2 separate regions of the Homo sapiens genome follow, and region 1 is linked to region 2. The links are contacts of gene promoters, found by promoter capture Hi-C in human tissues and cell types (Jung and others, 2019). All regions are on one chromosome and are shown on one strand. Each heading gives the region's core, a stretch centred on a gene start or on the middle of the fragment in contact. The rest is flanking DNA. Distances are from core to core; before and after follow the strand shown. Region 1 overlaps LRRFIP1 (LRR binding FLII interacting protein 1). Region 2 holds the start of PRLH (prolactin releasing hormone).

The links. Contacts are between HindIII fragments. The study calls those that stand out against the background at their distance.
Region 1: a contact is called between a fragment that was not itself captured here and the fragment with the promoter of PRLH in region 2, in 1 of the 25 tissues and cell types used here (ovary).

What each region holds. Positions count from the first base shown.
Region 1 is chr2:237,728,692-237,735,136 of GRCh38, reverse strand. It overlaps LRRFIP1 (LRR binding FLII interacting protein 1), which reads right to left. Exons shown (of 24, transcript NM_001137550.2): 9 at 1,319-1,363. Among named protein-coding and RNA genes, the nearest start is that of RBM44, 67 kb to the left of the region's middle. The HindIII fragment of the contact is 4,390 bases long and covers 175-4,564 here.
Region 2 is chr2:237,562,168-237,569,433 of GRCh38, reverse strand. It overlaps PRLH (prolactin releasing hormone), which reads right to left and starts at 2,860. Exons shown (of 2, transcript NM_015893.1): 1 at 2,761-2,860; 2 at 2,259-2,422. The coding sequence starts at 2,860. The coding sequence ends at 2,259. It also overlaps the pseudogene RNU6-1140P. RefSeq lists an enhancer at 5,511-6,011. The HindIII fragment of the contact is 10,563 bases long and covers 1-6,759 here.

The DNA.
Region 1 (6,445 bases), core at 1,120-3,619, 170 kb before region 2:
CTGAGAACCACCTTTCCAGCTCTTCAAAGGGTTGCAGAGTGCGACAAGGAAATGAGGAGAGACCGGTTTTAGTCGTTGTCAGGAGGTGTGCAATGTAATCTCCAACAGACCATTTAAATCTATTACTTTGGAAAACATCCCAGGCCTAAGTGAAAACTTGTTAATCCAGGTTAAAATGAGCAGATAATTCGAACATCCTGAATTTTGTCATGGCATTCTCATACTTGATGCTTAGAAAATTACTCTTATGTGAAGTGACTTTGGGATAAAATATCAAATTATGTTAATTATAGTTTTAATGTTAAATATTTTATAACCCTTTAAAAGTTGCTAAGTAGAAGAAAGAGTAATTGGTTAACTGGAAAATGCTACTTAATTAATCAACGTGGGTAAACAGGAGCTTACACTGCCACAAATGGTGATGTCAAACTTTGCCCGGTATAAAGGAACTTTAATTTCCCTATTTTCCCTTGAGGACATACTAGTTTGCTCAGCCATTTATTAATATATCAAACACATAAGTATGCAATCTGATGGAAATTCAGAAAGTTATTAATGGCTGGGTGTGGTGGCTCATGCCTGTAATCCTAGCACTCTGGGAGGCCGAGGCAGGCAGATCACCTGAGGTCGGGAGTTTGAGACCAGCCTGGCCAACGTGGTGAAACCCGTCTCTACTGAAAACACAAAAAGTAACTGGGTGTGGTGACACGTGCCTGTAATCCCAGCTACCCAGGAGGCTGAGGCAGGAGACTCACTTGAACCTGGGAGGCGTAGGTTGCACTGAGCCGAGATCGTGCCCTTGCACTCCAGCCTGGGTGACAGAGGGAGATTCTGTCTCCAAAAAAAAAAAAAAAAAAAAAAAAGGTTATTAACAAGACAATATAGCTACTTTGAGTATTTACTTTACGTTTCTTGCATAGCATAAGTACTTATATTTAAAACTGGAAATTTCCAAAGTAATATAGTAACATGGATTAGTATCTGTCCAGGTTACCAAAGCATTAAAAAGCCACCATTCTTTCTGCCAATAGGTAAAGTAAACATTGCTGTTGTTCCATTCCTGCCTAACGATCCCAGCAAACACAAGGCTTCCTGGAGACAGAGCAGTGTGGCAGCTACAGTCAACAATCGGGGGAGAGAAAACCCAGATCTGGCCAAAGGGGACAGACATTCCCCACTGGCACATGTAAGCTCCACGTGAAGGTGCAACTTCCCCCAGGGGGCTGGGAACAGGCACATCCCCGGCTCTGGGCTTGGTGGGGGCGGTGCATGCACAGTGGGAGGGGGTGCGGGGCAGCAGGGTGGGCAGCACACGCACCCGGTAACTCCCCGAAGGCCGGGCAGCGCTGTACAGACAGGAGGGCTGGAGGATGAAAGCAAATGGCAGGTTTTAAAAGCCTTGAAAAAACAGCAACAAATGACAGCAAAAGGCCATCACGATAGTTTCAGCATTCACCATAGCCAACTGCTGTACAGTGGTTAAACAGAAACAAACCGATCGAGGCACCGTGTTTTCTGCAAATTTGATAGATGCAAATCCAAAATTTACAAGAAAGATAACTGAGATGATTTTTAACTTTAAAACAGTAAACTTCCCAGCATCTTTAAAACACGATCATTTCTAGTCATTTCAGGCATTCCTGGAAGAAAGGGTCAGGGGATGAGACAGAATGGTGACAAGGTCAACACAACAACAGCAACAAAACCCACAGCTCAAATCCAAGGTTAACGACACACTTGGCAGTATTCAATACGCAGATGTCCACACATGAAGACAGGAGCAGGAAGAGTCTTTATTTCTATGCCAGGGGCCCAGCGACAGTCTTCAAGACACAAAGGGAGTCACTGCAAGGCTGCCTCAGCTGGTGTGGGAGGCACCCCCAGAGGAGCCGCGGTCTAGCCCTGTCAAAGGAGAATCCTGCCTAGCACACACGTCAGGGGGAGGCAGTGCTGGTGAAGGGACAGGCTGGGACACAAGGGCAGCTCCCAGTGTCCAGAGACTGTGCCACGGGACAGAATCTGGACTCATTTCCAGGGCACACTGAGCAAGTCAGGCAAGGTGCACGGCCAGGCGGTGATCACTCAGCAGCTCCAGTCGACATGCAAGGGAGAGGGACAGTTCAACCTCCAAATAGGACGTGTACTTTCACCTCTGACACCGACTTCCTTGGATTAGAATAAGACTCGATACCTATAGCTAACAGGCCAAGCACCTCAGGGCCGGACCTGAACCTGACCTTGTAAAAACAGGAAACAGCGGGGAGACCCAGCCAAAGGAATAACACTGTTCTGTCCACTTCTCAGGGACCAAGGAGGCAGATTAGGCACAAAAACCTTCCAAATTGCTTCCTGGACACATTTACAAGAGAAAAAATATTTTTAAAAAAACAAATGAAACCCCAAATGGGGAACAATTGCTGGAAAAGGAGGAGAGACCCAAGAGACCAATTTTTTGGACTCGAGTTTTTGAAAATATGCATTTAATAAAACCCTCCTTTTCCTTAAGTCTCCTTTTCTATATAGGTTCTAACTTATTTGACATGGTTTTTCTAAAAGATTGACAAAAGTCTTAGCAAACTAGTCAAGCCAATTAAAACAGTTGCTAAGCTTTGCTCTTGTGACTTTGTGTAGAGGAGGCTGAACTATCCACTAAATGTAATCAGCAATTAAAGTGATGCACAGAAGGAAAGGGAAGGAGCGACAAAGTGATGTGAAAAGGAGACAGACCCAGCTTCCATTTGGGGCAGACAGGGGTGTGGGAGCCAGGCCACCACCGGCAAGCCCAAGGCTGGAGCCGGAGAGTCCCTGTAATCAGAGCAAATGGGCAGCAGAGAGGAGAGAGAGGCTCACACCCTCACGGCATCGCAAAGGTACATCAGTCCAGTGAGTTCAGAGACGATTACCTTATACAACCAAAACAGTAACAGGCATGCACTCACGGGGGAGGGAGAGAACGAGGGTCAGAAGGAAATAAAGACGGCTGGGCCAGGCAACTGACAAAACTAGGAGATGGGGCCAAATTAGGACTTTTGAGTTCACGCACAGAAAAAAATATTTAATTTTAGTTGATATTAAATATTGAAATAAATTTTAATTGATATTAGGAAGAGTCATCAATACTACATTCTACACTGATACCTTTCCATTATTATATTTAAATAAAATTAAACGCACCACGTACTGGGCAGCAATAGATGTCTACAGAGCACAATTTCCAGGAAGGTTCTGAGGGTGGGTGAGTACAAGAGCCCTCGGGCAGCAAATCACGGGCACACAGGGCTCAGGGCGAGTTCACATGTGGCCCTGTTTGAATGAGTCAGCTCTCATTCTGATGTTTAACCCTTTGGATGTGGGTTATTTCTCTTAAATGGACTGAAGTGAGTCAGATGCAGGCTGAACTTGGGTGAATCGTTCATATCCAAAGATGAGATATTTATTGCCATCTTTTATTTTAGAGCAAGTAACTCAGCTTATCGAAAATGAGTTGGAAATGAAGTTTTCTTAATGACTAAGTGCCCTCTGCAACAGCAAAATCTCTTGAATTAAGAAAATGCCCAAAGCCTTTTTCAAGGTGTTAAACCCACCGATGCTTTGGTGTTCACAGCTGATCATATACTGAGTCAAAATTCACATATTGGGGGACAGAAGGGCCATCAGCTTACAGTGGGGGGATTTATTACAGACTGGGGGACTATGGGAAGGGTTGAGAAAGGTGGCAAGCAGTGGGCGCCATGGAGCTGCCAGCACCTTCTGCAGTCTCCCTGGACATGAAGGGGTTGGACAAGGGGTGAAGAGGTGAGGAAGAAGTGCCCTGGCAAGAAAAAGATACCCCCCAACCCCCCGGGAGGGAAACGAGAATAGGGGCTGGAAATTGGGGACAGGGCGGGGAAGGGTCAGAGCTATTTCTTCTAGAAGCATTTTAATGAGGTCAATGATACATGGGAGTGGCTAAAGGAAATCGCAGAGGAATTGCATAGATTTCATTTTCTGATTTCAGCGTGGGAGCTGCTACTGGAGTCACCAGGTTCACGGAACAGCTCCAACAGCACCCTGTGCTCAGCCACATGGCACCTCTCCTGGGTTCTGCCCATTCTGCGCGGCCTCTGCTCTGCTCAAATGGCTACTTACCTTGAAGAGCTTCCCCTCTAGGCTCTACCTGGTTAGTTCCTATTCTTTTCATTTGTTCTATTTGTTTGTTTGTTTGTTTGTTTGTTTGTCTGAGATGGAATCTCACTCTGTCGCCCAGGCTGGAGTGCAGTGGTGCAATCTTGGCTCACTGCAACCTCTGCTTCCTGGGTTCAAGCGATTCTCCTGCCTCAGCCCCCCGAGTAGCTGGGACTACAGGCATGTGCCACCGCACCTAGCTAATTTTTTATATTTTTAGTAGAGACGGGGTTTCATCGTGTTAGCCAGGATGGTCTCTATCTCCTGACCTCATGGTCTGCCCACCTCGGCCTCCCGAAGTGCTGGGATTTATAGGTGTGAGCCACCACACCTGGCCCTTCCTATTTATTAAGGTTCAGCTCACATCTTTTTTCCTGGCAAAACCAGTGTCTCCCTCCCATTCTATCTACTCATCTGTTCACTCCTGTACTGGTCTCCGGTGCCGGTGGCTTCTGTTCTAGATGTCAGTGCCTGGAGAGCACCCACCTCCTCTGCTTAGCTTTGTGATCCCAGGGCCTGCTTGATTTTCCTACCTAAACTAGTCCCAATTTTGCTGAGTAAATGTGAACCTAAACAAACACCAACAAGCCTTAGCAATTTTAGGGCTCTTAAACAATTTAGAAATTATGTTTATCAAGACCGATGCATGTTTGTAGAGAATGGGAAGGAACTCTGTTGTGTAAACATGTGGATTTGGATGAGACTCTGGATTTTCCTTCCAAGTCTAGTCCATGCCCAAGAAACCACCACAAAGTTTGCATGTACTCTTCAAAGTAGTTCTGTTTTCAGAAACTCTCAAGAATTCAAGAGCATTCTTCTAATTATTTTTTTCCTTTTGATTAATTCTAATTAGAAAATATACACAAAAACACGTCCTTTCATTGCAGCCAGCTGAATGCCACAATTCACATTCGAGCTGGTGTGGTCAAACGCAGCACACTGGAGTACATCTGAATGAAGGAGCTCATGTTAACTGCTGCTTTTCACGTCAATAACACAGCTACCCAAACAAAAATCCGTCAAACAGACACCGAAAGAGAAAAGTAGAGCTGAATCCACACACACAAGATTGCATGCTACAAAATCTGCGGTTTCTGAAGAGAATGTGAAAGATTTAAATGGAAACCAACCAACTTCTCCTCCCTGGATGATGACAAAGTAGAGAATCTGCTGTCACCGCTGTAGCTGGAATTCTGAGCACCAAAGAAGAAAACACGTTTAAGTGACAAGCACTTCCTTACGACTCCAAAAGCACCCCCATCCCATTCAAAAGGCGAACATGGAACAGCACAACCGAGCCAACACTAGGAGCCCAGGAACGCTAGTTTATCTAAAGACGCGAGGCACAAACAGTACAGCAGAGATTCTTAACAACTGGAGATTCTAAGCTGTATTTTCACCTTCAGTGTTTGTGTCTTGGTGATGCCAGGGGTGTATCTAGTACTGCTTTTCACAATCTCATATCCCTAGCACGATTCGTAATTACTGAGTTTCACACTGCGTTGTCAGTAAACTCCTTGTCTTATCTCCTTGGGTAACTAAAATTCCATTTATTGCAAAATTTTCAATCTTTCTTCAGCCCAGCCCGCCTGCGGGCTATAGCTCAGCCCTGGGGTGCCAGAAAGGTGGGTGGAGTGTGACAGCCTGCTGCCACCCGTCCACTGGAGAGCCCTTATCCACAGAGTGCAAATGCCCTGAAGGCCATCTTTACGTGTCTTGAGTATACATTTTTAAAATGTCGCATCCAGCCGGGTGCCATGGCTCATGCCTGTAATCCCAGCATTTTGGGAGGCCGAGGTGCGCAGATCACCTGAGGTCAGGAGTTCGAGACCAGCCTGGCCAGCAGGGTGAAACTCCATCTCTACTAAAAAATACAAAAAAAATTAGCCAGGTGTGGTAGTGGATGCCTGTAATCCAAGCTACTTGGGAGGCTGAGGCAGGAGAATCGCTCGAACCCAGGAGGCAGAGGTTGCAGTGAGCTGAGATAGCACCACTGCACTCCAGCCTGGGTGAGGGCACGAGACTTTGTCTCAAAAAATAAATAATTAAAGTGCATGCAATGCTAAATAGGTAAATAGGAATGAGCAAGTAAAAACAACTTGATCAGCTGGTTTCAGAAAGCTAAAGACGGCTTTGGTCGGGGAGAGGGAAGAAGGTCTGGGTGGGGTCACTCATTTGAAGCCCAAAAGTATAATTTAAGCATACACATGATATCTTAATATAACATAATTAAGATAAATGAAAAGAAATACTATTTTACACAATTAGGAATATTACTAAA
Region 2 (7,266 bases), core at 1,611-4,110:
ATCCCCCCACCCCTCTTCCCTATCCCCTGACAGCCATGAATCTGCTTCCATAGAATATGCAATGTCATACAACGTTTTTATATAAACAGAATCATACAACATTTGAATTCTTGTGCCTGGCTTCTTTCACTTAGCATGATGCTTCCAAGGTTCATCCGTGTTGTGGCATGTATCAGTGGTCCATTCCTTTTCCTGGCTGAGTAATATTCCATTGCATGGATAGACCACGCTGTGTTTTTCTATTCTTCTGTTGATGGGTGTTATGAAATGTTTGTGTCCCCGCCACTGCAAATTTATATGTTGAAATCCTCCCCCCATTATGGTGGTATTAGGAGATCGGGTCTTTGGGAGGAGATTAGGTCATGAAGGTGGAACCCTCATGGATGAAATTAGTGCCCTCATAAGAAGAGGCTAGAGAGCTTGCTTCCTGTTTCTGCTCTCTGCCATGTGAGGATACAACGAGAAGACGGTGTCTGTCAACCAGGAAGATGGTGTCGGATCAAGGTGTCGGATCAGCCAGCACCTTGATCTTGGACTTCCTGCCCCCAGAACTGTGAGGAGTGAGTGTTTACTGGCTGAGCCTCTGTGCCTATGCTATCTTATTAGAGCAGCCCGAACTGACTAAGGCAATGGGCATTCAGGTCATGTCCACCCTTTGGCTACTTGGAAGGGTGCTGCTGTAAACGCTGCTGTGATGTGCTGAGCACCTGCCCTCAGTTCTCCAGGGTCTACACCTGGGGCGAATTGTTGGGTCGTTTGATAACTCCGTGTTTAACTTTTTGAGGGCTGTGGCCTCTTTAAGGCCTGACCCAGCCCCTGCTGCCTTCGGAACAGACCTTGCCCCCCTTCCTGTTCCTGCAGGCTCACTCTACCCTGGCGAGGTGGCTCAGGGCTGGAGGGGCTCCCCTGTAGCTGGGGAGGTGCAGTCACCCCAACTCAGCCCCGTGTAGGTGGTCTGGGCCTTGCCACTGGCCCCTCTGAGCATGGATGGCCAAGAGGGCTGTGGTCAGGATGGGCTCCTGAGATCAGCATCTGCAGGCAGGGTCCAGCAAGAGTCCAGGCCAAGCTTTGGGTTGGAGGGAGCTGGTGAAGCCTGTTACATGGCTGGGTGGAGGATGGGCCTTGGGGAAGGGGCTTGCACTCACAGAGCACCCACCCTGTGCCGGCAGGCGTGCAGGTGCCACGCCCACGGAGCTGAGGAATGAGGTAAGCGTTGCTGTTCTGTGGCATGCAGTTGTGGAAACTGAGGCTCAGTGATTCACGGGATGAACTCAGTCTCCCAGGTGGTGCAAGTGTGCCCCCAATGCCAACCTAAGCTACACCTGAGGCAGGATGTGGAGACATCCCCGTGTGATTTGAAAGGGACGCACGTGGCGTGGGAGCAATCTAGGTTCAAGTCTCCCTGCCATGGGTCAGAAACAATCCATGATGCATCTTCCCTGAGTAAGAGGGAGGCAAGACAGACTGCAATGAGAGGACTAGCAGTTGTAGGGGTTGCGGGGTGCAGGGATGAGTAGGGGGAGCCCAGAGGACTTCTAGGACAGTTAAACGACTCTGCGTGATGCCACATCGTGTTGTTGTACATTTGTGCAAACCCACAGGACGCACAGCGTGGAGAGTGGGCTCTGACATACGCTGGTTGGGGATGGGGATGTGTCAGTGTGGGTTCCTCGACTGGGACAAAAGCACCCTCGGTGGGGGTGTTGATCATGGGGGAGGCTGTGCGGATGTGGGGGAAGGGGGTGGATGGGAACTTTCTGTACCTTCTACTCAATTTTGCTGTGAACCTAAAGCTGCTCTGAAAAATAGTCTAAATAAAAAGGACTGAAGTTGAGGGGCTGCCCAGGGCTCAGGCTGGGGGCTGTGCTACCGTCCTATGGGGACAGTGTCCTGCAGAGTATGACGCGTGGCACCTCCTGGCCTTCTGCAGTGGACAGCCTGGGCAGCCACTCAGGGCAGCTTGGGTGTGGGGGTGGCTGTGGGCTGCCGGTGACCAAGGGTAGACCCAGCGCCCCAACTCAGTGCCAAGTGCCCTCTGCCAAGTCACAAAGCCTTTTCTTCCAAAGAAGTTGCTGGGCTCTGAGGTTCTTTCTAGTCTAATGTCCCAGGAGGGAACAACTTCAGAGTCACCACCACACAGTCGTGAATGTGTAACTGAAGACCAGAGCTTTTATTAGGATTGAAGGGAAAGGAGCCCGAAGGAGAGGAGAGGGTGGGGTGGGGGAGGCTCCAGAGTGAGTTTCTTGACAAGCTGGCTGTCAGCCATCCTGGGACGACATAGCACCGCCTTCCAGGGGGAAGCAGGTCAGCCGGGGTCGCAGGCCAGGCTTGGGGACGTCCCCCAGGGTTGCCCTCCTCCGACCGAAGCGGCCCACAGGCCTGATCCCGCGACTGGCGTACCAGGCAGGATTGATGTCAGGGGCTGGAAAGGAAAGAGCTGGAGCAGACCATGGGCACGTGTCCCCAGGGTGTGCTGTGCTCCCAGAGGCAGCGGGGCAGAGTGCACAGGCAGGGCCTCTCAGCCCAGTCGCCAGGCCATGCTGGGAGCCACCCGAGGAACAGGCACCCAGAGGTTCTGGCGAGGCCATTTCTGGGCGTGGGCTGGCTTTGGGAAGCAGGAGTTCAAAAAAGCACCAAGACTGACTTCCCTTTCCTCCCGCGCACCCCGTTCCTGCCAGGTTCTCGAGCGACCAGGCTGCACTAGGTTCTGGGGTGAGGCAGGGTGGGGTAAGGGAGGCTGACAGGGGTCCAGGCACTCACTGCGGATCTCCATGGAGTGCCGATGGGTACGACTTGCAGCTCCCCGCAGGGCCAGGCCCAGCATCAGCAGGCACAGGAGCCAGGCCCTCAGCACCTTCATCCCTTGGCTCCTCCGAGGAGGCCCCGCTGGAGGGGAGATCCAAATGAGGAGGACACGGCCTGGGGGAGAAGGGGCAGGAGCAGCGTCACACAGGCATCAGGGTGCGTGTGCACGGAGCTGGGACCTTGGGTAGAGTGAGCACTGTGTGTGAGAGAGAAGTATGTGCATGAGCCTGTGTGCATGTGAGTGCACAGCTGTGTATGTATATGTGTACAAGAGGGTGTGGTGTGTGCACATGGGTGCCTGTGTGTGTGTATGTGTGCAGATATGTGTGTGTATGTGTGTAGATGTGTGTATGTGTGCAGGTGTGTGTGTATGTGTGTAGATGTGTGTGTATGTGTGCAGATGTGTGTGAGTGTATGTGTGTAGATGTGTGTATGTGTGCAGATGTGTGTATGTGTGTAGATGTGTGTGTATGTGTGTAGATGTGTCTGTGTGTATTGTGTAGATGCGTGTGTATGTGTGCAGATGTGTCTGTGTGTAGATGTGTGTATGTGTGTAGGTTTGTGTGTATGTGTGTAGATGTGTGTGTATGTGTGCAGATGTGTGTGAGTGTGTGATGTGTGTATGTGTGCAGATGTGTGTGTGTGTAGATGTGTGTGTATGTGTGTAGTGTGTCTGTGTGTATTGGGTAGATGCGTGTGTATGTGTGCAGATGTGTCTGTGTGTAGATGTGTGTATGTGTGTAGGTTTGTGTGTATGTGTGTAGATGTGTGTGTGTAGATGTGTGTATGTGTAGGTGTGTGTAGTTGTGTGTGAGTGTATGTATGTGTGTGGATGTGTGTGTAGTTGTGTGAGTATGTGTGTAGATGTGTGTGTATGTGTAGATGTGTGTGTAGCTGTGTGTGTGTGTATGTGTGTAGATGTGTGTATGTGTGTAGATATGTGTGTAGATGTGTGTGTGTCGATGTGTGTGTGAGTGTGTGTAGATGTGTATGTGTGTAGGTGTGTGAGTGTACATGTGTAGATGTGTGTGTGAGTGTATGTGTGTATGAGTGTAGGTGTGTGAGTGTATGTGTGTAGATGTGTGTATGTATGTGTGTAGATGTGTATGTGTGTAGATGTGTGTGTAGATGTGTGTGTGTACGTGTGTAGATGTGTGTGAGTGTGTGTAGATGTGTATGAGTGTAGATGTGTGTGTATGTGTGTAGATGTGTGTGTAGTTGTGTGTGAGTGTATGTATGTGTGTAGATGTGTGTGAGTGTGTAGATGTGTATGTATGTGTGTAGATGTGCGCGTGCACATAGCCACATAGATCTCCACGTGTTCCTCTGATCTGTGCTGAGGTGGGAATAAGCACAGAAACAGCAGTTAAACCTGGCTCTCTGCATGGTCCCCCACCCGCCTGTGACCCCATTCTCTCCTCTGCGCAATGAGGTGTTAAGTGAGATGCTTCTGTGCGCGTCAGCCTCTAACGGGATCGGTCACATGTACATTGATGCTCATGATCAGAAAGCCCTCAGGAGGTGTGAGCTACGCGTTATAAAGGGGGGCTGTCATGGAACAGCCTTGGGTCCGTCTGTCCGCCTGTGTTAAGGGATCAGAAGGTGCAGCAGGCCTCTGCACGGCTGTGCATGTTGCACACCCAGGACAGCAGGTTTGTGGGGAGGTGCCCAGGGAGCTGCACAGGTGGAGGCAGCCCCTTGCTCAACCTCAGACATGGTTGGGGAGCTGGGGAGTGCCAAGCCTGGACCAGGCTCAGGGGCTGGAATCCGGTGCACGGCCCCTTCCCACATTCATCTCAGCGCCTCCTAATGCCTGGTTCCAGCCTGCCAGCCCAGCCCTGCTGGGGAATGTCAGCCGACAGCTGCGTGTCGTAGAATGAGTCTGCATCCTCTGCCCTAAGTAAGCCCACTCACCCTTGCCATGACGCTAGATCCAGTCTTCTGAGGCTCCAAGGTAAGCCTGTAGCATCTGGGACCTCTTCTCACAAGGCAGGGCCACTTCCTATCGGTGATGGGAGGAGGGGGCTGCCGTGGATGACACCAGGTGCATGGAAAGCCCCTTCCACCCCACTGGAGTGGAGGTGCTGAAATGCCTAAACAGCATCCATCATGGGAGACCTGGAAACACCTGCTGCAGGCACCCCTCCTCCTTCCTCCACCTGTGGCACTTTGGGTGCCATGGGAAGATGCCCGACAGCTCCATCTTGCTCTGGGAAGGATCCCCCTGCCGACCTTGACTTTCCAGCCCCTCCCTGAGCCCCACAGAAAGTGCTCTCCATCAGAACAATTTAAAATGCCTACACCTTTCCTTTTTAGAGACCTGGAGGGGCGTCCCATGCTAGGTGGGGTGGGGGGTTCCCCAGTCTAGAGGAAATGGAGGTGCCACCTTGAAGAGTGATAAAGAGATTCATCCCAGCAGGCTGGCCGTTTGCATTTCCTCTGGCACGGGACCCACGCCACCTGAGGGGTGTCCGAGAATGCTAACGATGCTCACTTGGCTCCTGATCCCCAAAGACCTGCCTCCCTGAGAGGTGGAGACTTTGGCCGGCTGCCCCGTGGGATTTCCTGGTCAGCGGAGTTGAATGGGACGTCTTTGTCTGGAGTCTCCACCATGGACAGCGCCGGAGCCTTGGTGCCCTGGGAGGGCAGGGTGGCTTTGGATGCAAGAACCCAGGGGCCAGCCGTCTCTGCCTCTCCTGCTTAGGCCTAGCCTCAGCTGCCAGGAGAGCAGGCAGGGTCTCAACCCGACCCACACTCAGACAGCAAGGGAAGATTTTACAAAGTAGCAAAGCAGAGGGCCCAAGCTCCAGCGCCTGGATGTGCAACTCACCGTTCTCGAGTGTGGTAGAGGAGCTGTCCTGGCTACGGGTGCAGTGGAGCCGAGGAGGCGGGAGCCTCTGTTCCCCTTTTATAGCCCCCGAGAGGACGAAGCCGGCACCCCCAGGTGCCCTCCCCCAAGCCAGCCTGTCTCCCTCACAGGGCGGCATCAGGAGCGAGCCTGTGTCTCTTCTCGTTCCTTTATTGAAAAAAAAAAACACAAAACAAAACTCATCAGCGATGCGATTTGTTCCTTCCTGGGTTATATAATTTCATTTGGACCAAGTGGTTTTAAAACACATTAGCTTCTCTTCTTCGTGCTCGCCTTCGGGCAGACTGCAGTGTCAAGTGTCCGCTGGGCCTCACAGATGGGGCTCCCGGACTCCTTCCAGTCCTCTCTCCCTGCCTTTAAATCACCGCATTCACATTCAAGGGAAAGGTGAGCAGGGACAGTCACCAAAGCCCAGCACTGCGGCTTTGTATCTTTGCGATCTTCTCGGTCCTCGTTCATTCACCTGCCTGACTGTCCTACCTGCATTTGTCGTGTGCACACCATGTCTTCCTCATTCTGTAACTTCCGCGCAGGGGCCATGCTAATCTTCTCTGTATCGGTCCAATTTTAGTATATGTGCTGCAGAAGCAAGCACTCTATAACTTACAACAGGTGGTTTCTAGACTTTTACAGTCTTTATAATTAATGTTTAACATAAACAAGTTTATTATTCTCATAAGACAAGCTTATTTTTTATTATAAAAGAAACAAATACATTTTTATTATTAAAGCAGTTCATATACATTTGGAAAAATATTAGTGCATACAACAAAATAGAAAAAATAGCACTGATCATGTTAAAGAAGCTGCTCGTGGCCAGGTGTGGTGGCTCATGCCTGTAATCCCAGCACATTGGAAGGCCGAGGCGGGTGGATCATGAGGTCAGGACTTCGAGAGCAGCCTAACCAACATGGTGAAACCCTGTCTCTACTAAAAATACAAAAATTAGCTGGGCATGGTGGCGCACGCCTGTAATCCCAGCTACTCAGGAGGCTGAGGCAGCAGAATCACTTGAACCCCCTGGAGGTGGAAGTTGCAGTGAGCTGGGATCCTGCCACTGAACTCCAGCCTGGGCGACAGAGCGATACTCTGTCTCAAAGAAAAAAAAAAAAAAAAAAGAAAGCCTCTCGCGTCTACATTTGATGCATTTTCTTCTAGTGAGCTTCCGACATATTTTCTGGGTAGATTGATCACATTTATACATGTTGAATTTCATTCTTTTCACTTAACACTGTAACAATCACATCCTCAAGTTGCTAAAAAATCTGCAAGTTTGTGCCATTTTAAGTAACTGTGCAATGTTCTACCATTTAAGGTGGATCTAAATCATTCATGTTCTGAATAATTATAGGTTATACTCATGACCACTTATATGCAGTTGAGTACAATCTTTTTAAGGAAAATTTCTGGAGGGGAAACTTGGCACGTGCTTCCCATGGATTGGCGCAGATGGTCAATGTGCCACTTCCATCCTTTAGGAAAAGCTTCTGGGCAATACTTTCCCCTTCAGGGAACAGGACACAGTGGCTTCTTCCTTGCTGCGTAGTTGTTTTTCCCAGTGACACAGGTTTGTGGCTGGTGGGCTCCCTGGG